Linked DNA regions of Homo sapiens: regions 1 and 3 are each linked to region 2. Evidence: promoter capture Hi-C in human tissues and cell types (Jung and others, 2019). All regions are on one chromosome and are shown on one strand. Each heading gives the region's core, a stretch centred on a gene start or on the middle of the fragment in contact. The rest is flanking DNA. Distances are from core to core; before and after follow the strand shown.

Region 1 (2,700 bases), core at 190-2,689, 240 kb after region 2:
AATATCCTTTATTCCCAACATTATTTATTGAAGAAGCTGTCTTTTTCCCTTTGTGTTTTCTTGGCACTTTTGTCAAAAACCAATTGACTATAAATGCATGAGTTTATTTCTGGCCTTTATTCTGCTCCATTGGTCCATGTATCTGCTTTTATACCAGTACCATGCTCTTTTGCTTGCTATAGCTTTGTAGTATATTTTGAAGTCAGGTACTGTGATGCCTCCAGCTTTATTCTTGTTTATCAAGGTTGCCGTGTTTATTTGGGATCTTTTGTGGTTCCAGACAAATTTTAGAAATGTTTTTCTATTTCTATGAAAACATCATTGGAATTTTGGTTGCATTGAATGTATTCAACTTTTCACCATTGAATATGATGTTAGCTACAAGTTTGTTGTATTGCCTTTATTGTACTTCTATACCTAATTTGGTAAGAATTTTTATCATGAAAGATGTTGAATTTTGTCAAATGCTTTTCCTGTATCTATTGAGATTATCATATGTTTTTGTCCTTTATTCTATTAATGTGGTGTATATCACATTTATAGGTCTGTGTATGTTGAATCATCCTTGCACCCCTCGGAAAAATTCAACTTGATTATGGTGAATGGTCCTTTTAATATGCTGTGGATTTCAGTTTACTATTATCTATATTCATCAGGGACATAGGCCTGTATTTTTTTTTTTCTTGTAGTGTCCTCATCTGGTTTTAGTATCAGGGTAATGTTGGCCTTGTAAAATGAGGTTGGACATATTCCCTCTTCAAATTTTTGGAAGAATTTTGAGGTGGATTGGTATTCATTCTTCTCTAAAAGTTTTGTGGAATGCAACAGTGAAGCCATCAAGTACTAGGCTTTTCTTTGATGGAAAACTTATTACTGATTCAGTCTTCTTACTCATTATTGATCTGTTCAGATTTTCTTCTATTTCTTCATTATTAATTTTTGGTAGGTTGTGTATATCCAGGAATTTATTCATTTTTCTCTAGGTTATTCAATTTGTCAATGTATAATTATTCATGATAGTCTCATGATCCTTTGCATTTCTGTGATATCCATTGTAATGTCTCCTTTTTGATTTCTGATTTTATTTGAGTTCTCTCATTTTTGTTAATCTAGCTAAAGTTTTACCAATTTTGTTTATCTTTCAGAAAACCAACTCTTAGTCTTGTTGATCTTTTCTATTGCTTTTCTAGTCTCTATTATTTATTTCTACTCTGATCTTATTATTTCCTTCTTTCTACTTACTTTAGGCTTAGTTTGTTCTTCTTTTTCTAGTTTCTTGAGGTATACCATTAGGTTTTTTGGGGGGACTTTCTTTTGTGTTGATGTGGGGATTTATTGCTATAAACTTTGCTCTTAGAACTGCTTATGTTGCATCCCGTAAGTTTTGGTATGTTGTGTTTCCATTTTCATTTGTCTCAGGATATTTTTCAAATTTCCCTTTTAATTTATTCTTCAACTCATGGGTTGTTCAGGAGCATGCTGTTTAATATCCATATATTTGTAGATTTTCTGAAGTTCCTCCTGTTCTTGATTTCTAGTTTCATACCATTATGGTCGTAAAAGGTACTCAATATAATTTCAATCATCTTAAATTTGTTAAGACTTGTTTTGTGGACTAATATATGATCTATCCTGGAGAATGTTTCATGTGCATTTGAGAAGAGTGTGTATTCTGTCTCTGTTAAATGGAATGTCATGTATCTGACTGTAAGGTTTATTTGGTCTGAAATATAGTTCAAGTCCAATATTTCATTATTAATATTTTGTCCGGATGATCTGCCAATTGCTGAAAGTGAGGTATTGAAGTCTTCTACTATTATTGTATTACAATCTGCTCTCCTTTCATGTCTATTAATATTTGCTTTATATGTTTAGGTGCTCCTATGTTGGGTACATATGTATTTACAATTATTATATCCTCTTGATAAATTAGCCCCTTGATATAGTCCAAAACTGATCTCCAATGTTAGCGACGGGGCCCAGTGAGATGTTTGGGACATGGAGGTGGATACCTTATGAATGGTTTGGTGCTGTCCTTGTAGTAATAAGTGAGTTCTTGCTCTATTAGTTCATATAGGAGCTTGTTGTTAAAAAGAGCATGGCACCTCCCCCTTCTCTCTTGCTCCCTCCCTTGCTATGTGACACACTTGCTCCCTTCTGCCTTCTGCCATGATTAAAATTTCTTGAGGCCCTCAACAGAAGCCTTCTTTGCTGGTGCCATGCTTCTTGGGCAGCCTGTAGAGCCAAATAAACCTCTTTTCTTTATAATTTACCCAATCTCAGTTATTCTTTTTTAGCAATGCAAAACAGACTAATACACCCCTTTATCACTATATAATGACCTTCTTTGTTTCTTATTGTAGTTTAAATTTCTCATATAATGATTATTATCTAAGTGTTTTTAATAGTACCTGGAGTATAGTAAGTCCCACACAAATATTAGTTACTGATAGCTATTGTTGCATTATCCATATTTTAATCATTATTCTTCATACATGGTCCTTAGTCTTTTTTCTTGTTATAAAATGAAGGATACAAGATTGTTTTTCTTATGCCATCTTTGGACATTCATCCACCTAGGCTTTGACCATATTAGTATTCATGGCAGACACCGTAGGGTTCCTGGACACATCCTCAGTCACAATTTGCTTTTCCCTGGAAGCTTTCAGAGGTTGGATTAGGAATGCACGTGTGACTCAA
Region 2 (2,700 bases), core at 182-2,681:
AGATCACATAGTATGTATGCACAGTGACGTCATTTCTTTGAAAGCAAGGTGGCCTGCATGTGTTGGCATCTCAGGAACAGCAGAATCAGGTGCCTGACAAGGGTGTATCTTTAACTCCTGGAGCCACTTACTTGACTAGGGAAAGTCGTAGTGGTGAAGTGTTTGAAAGCAGCAACTGAATGCTGCACTAAGTGGCAGAGACGTCTTATGAATTGAGCCCTCAGGCAATTGAATCGGTGGAGCCAGTGACAGCAGCTTAAAAGCGCTTGCAAATTGAAAAAAAAACACAAGTCTTGAAGGATATAATTTTGCTGAGAATGGAAACTAGAACTACGGCCAGCAATCGGAAACGAGAAGTCGGTGCACTGACAGCAGCAGCCAGATTTACCTAAAGGGACTTCACGACACTGAATATAAAATCAGAGTTTTATAACACAGAACCCCAAGTCCAAACTTTGCCCATGAAAGTCCTCTTCTAAACAGAAAAGTTGGGCAAGCAGCTCTTAGAAAGTTTCTGCTTTCCATATACAGTATGTATTTGTTTAAATTATACAAATATGCAAGGTCAGCAAGAGTTGTCAAGGAGTTCTTTTTTGGAAGAACAAATTACACTTTACTCTAACTTTAACACTCTCTCTGGGCATAAGTGCAGAGTTCCGGGACCTTAGCTCCAAAGATCATATTTAAAAGCTTTAATATCATCTAAAATACAACCCTTCATATATAGCATGCCTTGTAAATAAAGTCCTGATGAGTTACACACACAGAGACACATACACACAGAGACACATACACACATGCAAAAGAACATGGTCTTAAAAATAAAACATCTGCACCTGCAAAAGAAAAAAAAAATCCCCAAGTTCATATCCATGCTCTATAGCCCTTAGCCATAGAGAGGATTTAAAGGAATCTTCTGTAATGACACCACGGAAGCCCTGCAGAAGTGGAGGATTTAGCATAAGTACCTTGCAATAGTTTCTACTCATACAGATATCTGTGCAAATGCATCCATCTCCCCGAGCTATTTTTCAGATTCCACAGAATTGCATATTCAGCAATTTATAAATAACTCTCGGTTCCGAAACAATGAAAATTTTAAAGTGAAGAACAGTTCTAGGCAGAAGCAAACAGTACACAATTTAAATAGAATTCCCCAATGACTTCAAAGAGTAAGAAATATTTACCTTCAAGAAATCACAAAAGCAGCACTTAAATAATTGGGTTGGAAGACTGCTGATTTTTCCCATTGCTTCTGAAGTACAAAGTCTGAAAATGAATTGGTTAGCAGGAATAATGAAGCAAAAAGAAATCCAGAGAGATGGGAGATGTTGAGAGCAATGTCACATTTCAATTTTGAGGACTTTATTCCATTGCGCAGGCTCTATCTGCTCTGAATTTAGCAGTGACAGTGAGATTTAGCAAACAGAAGAGGGATTTAGAGAAAATCCTCACATTTATCTACAAAACACAGACACTGTAGACAGGAAACAGCTGGGGGAACATTTGCCTTCTCTCTCTCTCCCTCTTCTGGCAAAGTTATTGAGTAAGGACTTTTTTGGGCATGGTGACAAATAACATCATACCTTTGCATTTTAAAACTAGAGCACAGAAGCATTTTTTTCCCTTAAAAGAATGTGTGTTAGTGACAGGGTTCGCAGACATTAAAATACTTATGCTGCCATAGAAAATAAGGATCTGTTTTCTGATTAACTTTCTGCTGGGCATGAAGACACAAACGTCTGCTAATACACCTTACCAGTATTAAAGGAATATGGGGGATGGGAGAGCAATTTTAGATTCTAGAGCAAATGCATTATTTAAAACAAAAAAAGAAAGAAAGGACGATAAGACCCTCTCCAGCAAACTCTACAATTTTAACCCTGAAGTGACTGGGGTAAAGTAGATTGGAAGACAGCACTCGGGTGACCCCTTGTCCCAGTTGCCAAGTGAGAGGTGTGATCTCATTTCCTAGAACCTATGGAGGGGCAGGCAGCATTGGATTGGTCCCTTTAGGGCACTGTCTCATACTTTTTCTCCTGCGATGAGGCAAAGACTATGCCGAGCTGTAAAACCCAACTGAAATAGAACATTTTTCTTTATTCTTCTACTAGGCTGCCTGTCACTGTCCCCTCCCCACCCCACCACTCTGGGAGAAGGGTACCTGGGGGGCAAACAATTTTCCTGTTGTTTGAATTTTCCATATAACTCAAACCTGTGTGTGTGTGTGTGTGTGTGTGTGTGTGTGTGTGTGTGTATGACAGAGGGAGTCTGTGTGCCAGAGTGTGTTTTCTTTCTCTGATTTTTGTGTATTCTAAATAACACCAGCTGGCTAGCAATACCCTCTCGAGGGTTATGATGTCATTCAAATCCCTCAACTGGGTGACTGGCCGGCAACATGGTCCAAGCCAGCTGTTTTGCTATTTATAATGTACACTTGCCTTTGCCATTGAGAATTCAGTTCTGATCTTTTGTCGATACAGTTTGTACCTATTTCCCTTTGGTTTTGTGAAGCAGTAGATAAGAAAGTGAATTATAAAATAAGGTTGCAAAAGCCCAGAGCAGACATACCTCTTTCCCTAGAGAGCTCTCCAGGCCTGGTTTCCCAGGAGTGGTGGAAATAACCTGGACCTTGAATTTTTTCTTTTTTTTTTTTTCCACATGACTCTCAGGGGACTGACACATCAACTGAAAACACAG
Region 3 (2,700 bases), core at 31-2,530, 160 kb before region 2:
TGGTTTCTTAGATGGTCCTTGCTGGGTGGACAGGGTAGGGCATATGGCTCAGGTTGCCAAGATGGTGCTAAATGCCTTAATTTGGTTCAGAATGGTTTGATGGATGCTTTTGATTTTTTTTTTTAATGCTTCTCAGCTTGAAAACATTTCCAGTTTTTGTCCTTTTCATGGGAATTTATTGAACATAAGTAAGTTGGATGTTTTTCTTGTTAACTAGAAGACTTAATCATGTAACATGACAAAGGAAAGAAAGAAAAAGGATTTATGATTCTAAAGAATGGGCAATTCCCTTGAAGGAGTGGGTCATTCAGTGAAGCTGTTTGTTTGGCCTGGGTTTTCTTTAAGTTTATTTTTCTCACTCAGTTGAGATTTTGACTGTTTCTGACTACCTTCCTCAACTCTATCACTCTTTCTATGGCTTGTGGTTGGAAAACAGGGCCATCCAAGTAGCTTGTTGGGTCCCAGGCGAATGCCCTTTGACTCTCAACACCTTTTTAGAAAGGTACATTCTCTTTCAAGGAAAAATGAAGCCATGTAAGGGAAGCTTATGTACAAAATAGGATAATCCAGTTAACTCAGGTTATGGTGATTTGTCCTTTTTGTGTGTTTGTTTCAGCTGTTGCTATTGAAAACTCTTATAGAAGAATTTAGTTATTTCTTAATTTTATTTAGTTAATAATTTTAGTAAATAGATTTACTTTTTCTATGGCAAATGAGAACCTAGCAATACTACAGAATCATAGGACATATACATGTACAAGACACTTATTGATCTTCCCACAACATCTAACATTTCTACATGTTTTGAAATGTTTCTTCAGTAGACGTGTTCTGAAATGTTTTGAAATGTTTCTTCTAAAAACTGTTCACTCCTTTCTCCCTAAATGTGTATTATATGTTGGTATTATACTGGGTGCTCAGAATTATCTTTAAGAATGATGGGGTGTGCCGGGCATGTGGCTCATGCCTGTAATCCCAGTACTTTGGGAGGCTGAGGTGGGTGGATCACCTGAGCCCAGGAGTTCCAGACCACCTTGAGTAACATGGAAACCCTGTCTCTACTAAAAACACAAAAACTAGCCAGGTGCCTGTAGTCCCAGCTACTGGGGAGACAGGCATGAGAATCACTAGAACCCAGGAAGCAGAGGTTGCAGTGAGCCGCGATTGTGCCATTGCACGCCTGGGTGACAGAGTGAGATTCTGTCTCAAAATAAAAATAAAACAAAATAAATAATGATGAGGCCCAATTGGTTTCTCAAGAAGTGCACTTGGTTTCTCAAGTTGCCCACTTGGCCCTCCCGCAAGTTGTACTTTACTTTACTTTTCCTTCCTTTCCTTACTGTTCTAAAGCTTTTAAATAAACTTTCACTCCTGCTCTGAAAAAAAAAAGAATGATGGGAAACACAGGGGCTGCTAAAATCAAGATCAAGTACTGTACCTGGTCTTGGGCTGCTTATAAGCTAGTTGGAAAGAAAAGACACACACTTGGAAAGATAGCTAAAATATGACAAATAGCTAAAATATGACAAGTGTCATGTGAGCAAAACATAGAAAAAAAGGCCATGGAAGTTCAGCAAGGGTATATTCTCTGTGCACAGAACAATCTGATAAGCCTTCTCAGAAGAAATGGAATTGGAGCTGGGATCTGAGGTTTAGATTAGCAGAGACGGCAGTGGGAAGGACATTTCAGGGAGGAAAGAAGCAAAGGCACAGAAATGAAAAAGTAGAATACATGTTTGGGTGGGGCAGGATGATGAAAGCAATGAGAAGATTAATTTGTTTGGAGCAGAAACCCTCCCATCCCCATCACCAATCCTATTAACTCAAAGGTTCATTTAGTTAAAATACAGTAAAGCTTCAGTCCCTTACTTGCCCTTTTGAGTCCCAGTTTCCTTATTTGTAAAACGAGGTTAATCATACCTACCAGCCATAGATTAAATTATTAAATGATTAAATGGATTAAATGAGATAGGATACTAAAAGGAAGGTGTTGAGCAGGGTTCCTCACACTTTATCATCCCTCTTCACTCAATTCATTGCATTCAATTTAATTCCAGTGCTGTCTGTCATACTATCAAGACATCTCCTATGCTACTCCCCCTTGAGGATAATTTAAATTTGACTGTTATTGCATTTCTCTAAACTAGTTTCTATTCACCTTCTGGTTTAGGAGAATTTTCTTGGCATAAGCCATCTGTATATGCAAAGGAGACCAATGTCACATTTGAGGGCTTTAAATAATTCCTCACTAACCAGTTCAGGGTGGCTAGAGTATAACAAGCTAAAAGGGAGTAGTTGGCAATAAGAAAGGTGTCTCAGTTTGTTTTCTCTTGCTATAACAGAATACTTGAAACTGGCTAATTTATAAAGAAAAGGAATTTATTTCCTACAGTTATGGGAGATGAGAGGTCCAGAGTTCAGCAGCTGCATCTGGTAAGAGCCTTTTTTTTTTTTTTTAAGTTTTGATTCTTTTTTTTTTGTTTTTTTGTTTTTTTATTTTATTTTATTTTATTATTATTATACTTTAAGTTTTAGGGTACATGTGCACAATATGCAGGTTAGTTACATATGTATACATGTGCCATGCTGGTGTGCTGCACCCATTAACTCGTCATTTAGCATTAGGTATATCTTCTAATGCTATCCCTCCCCCCTTCCCCCTACCCCACAACAGTCCCCAGAGTGTGATGTTCCCCTTCC

Evidence for each region. Contacts are between HindIII fragments. The study calls those that stand out against the background at their distance.
Region 1: a fragment that was not itself captured here is called in contact with the fragment with the promoter of IGF1 in region 2 in 1 of the 25 tissues and cell types used here (H1 embryonic stem cells).
Region 3: a contact is called between a fragment that was not itself captured here and the fragment with the promoter of IGF1 in region 2, in 1 of the 25 tissues and cell types used here (liver).

The regions. Positions count from the first base shown.
Region 1 is chr12:102,716,275-102,718,974 of GRCh38, forward strand. No RefSeq gene overlaps it. Among named protein-coding and RNA genes, the nearest start is that of LINC00485, 110 kb to the right of the region's middle. The HindIII fragment of the contact is 4,641 bases long and covers 1-2,700 here.
Region 2 is chr12:102,479,132-102,481,831 of GRCh38, forward strand. It overlaps IGF1 (insulin like growth factor 1), which reads right to left and starts at 1,432. Exons shown (of 4, transcript NM_000618.5): 1 at 1,188-1,432. The coding sequence starts at 1,250. It overlaps LINC02456 (long intergenic non-protein coding RNA 2456), which reads left to right. Exons shown (of 13, transcript XR_007063427.1): 11 at 1-2,700. RefSeq lists enhancers at 1-147, 238-287. The HindIII fragment of the contact is 12,796 bases long and covers 1-2,700 here.
Region 3 is chr12:102,322,445-102,325,144 of GRCh38, forward strand. All of the region lies in intron 5 of LINC02456 (long intergenic non-protein coding RNA 2456), which reads left to right. Among named protein-coding and RNA genes, the nearest start is that of LINC02456, 44 kb to the left of the region's middle. RefSeq lists an enhancer at 1-514. The HindIII fragment of the contact is 4,745 bases long and covers 1-2,700 here.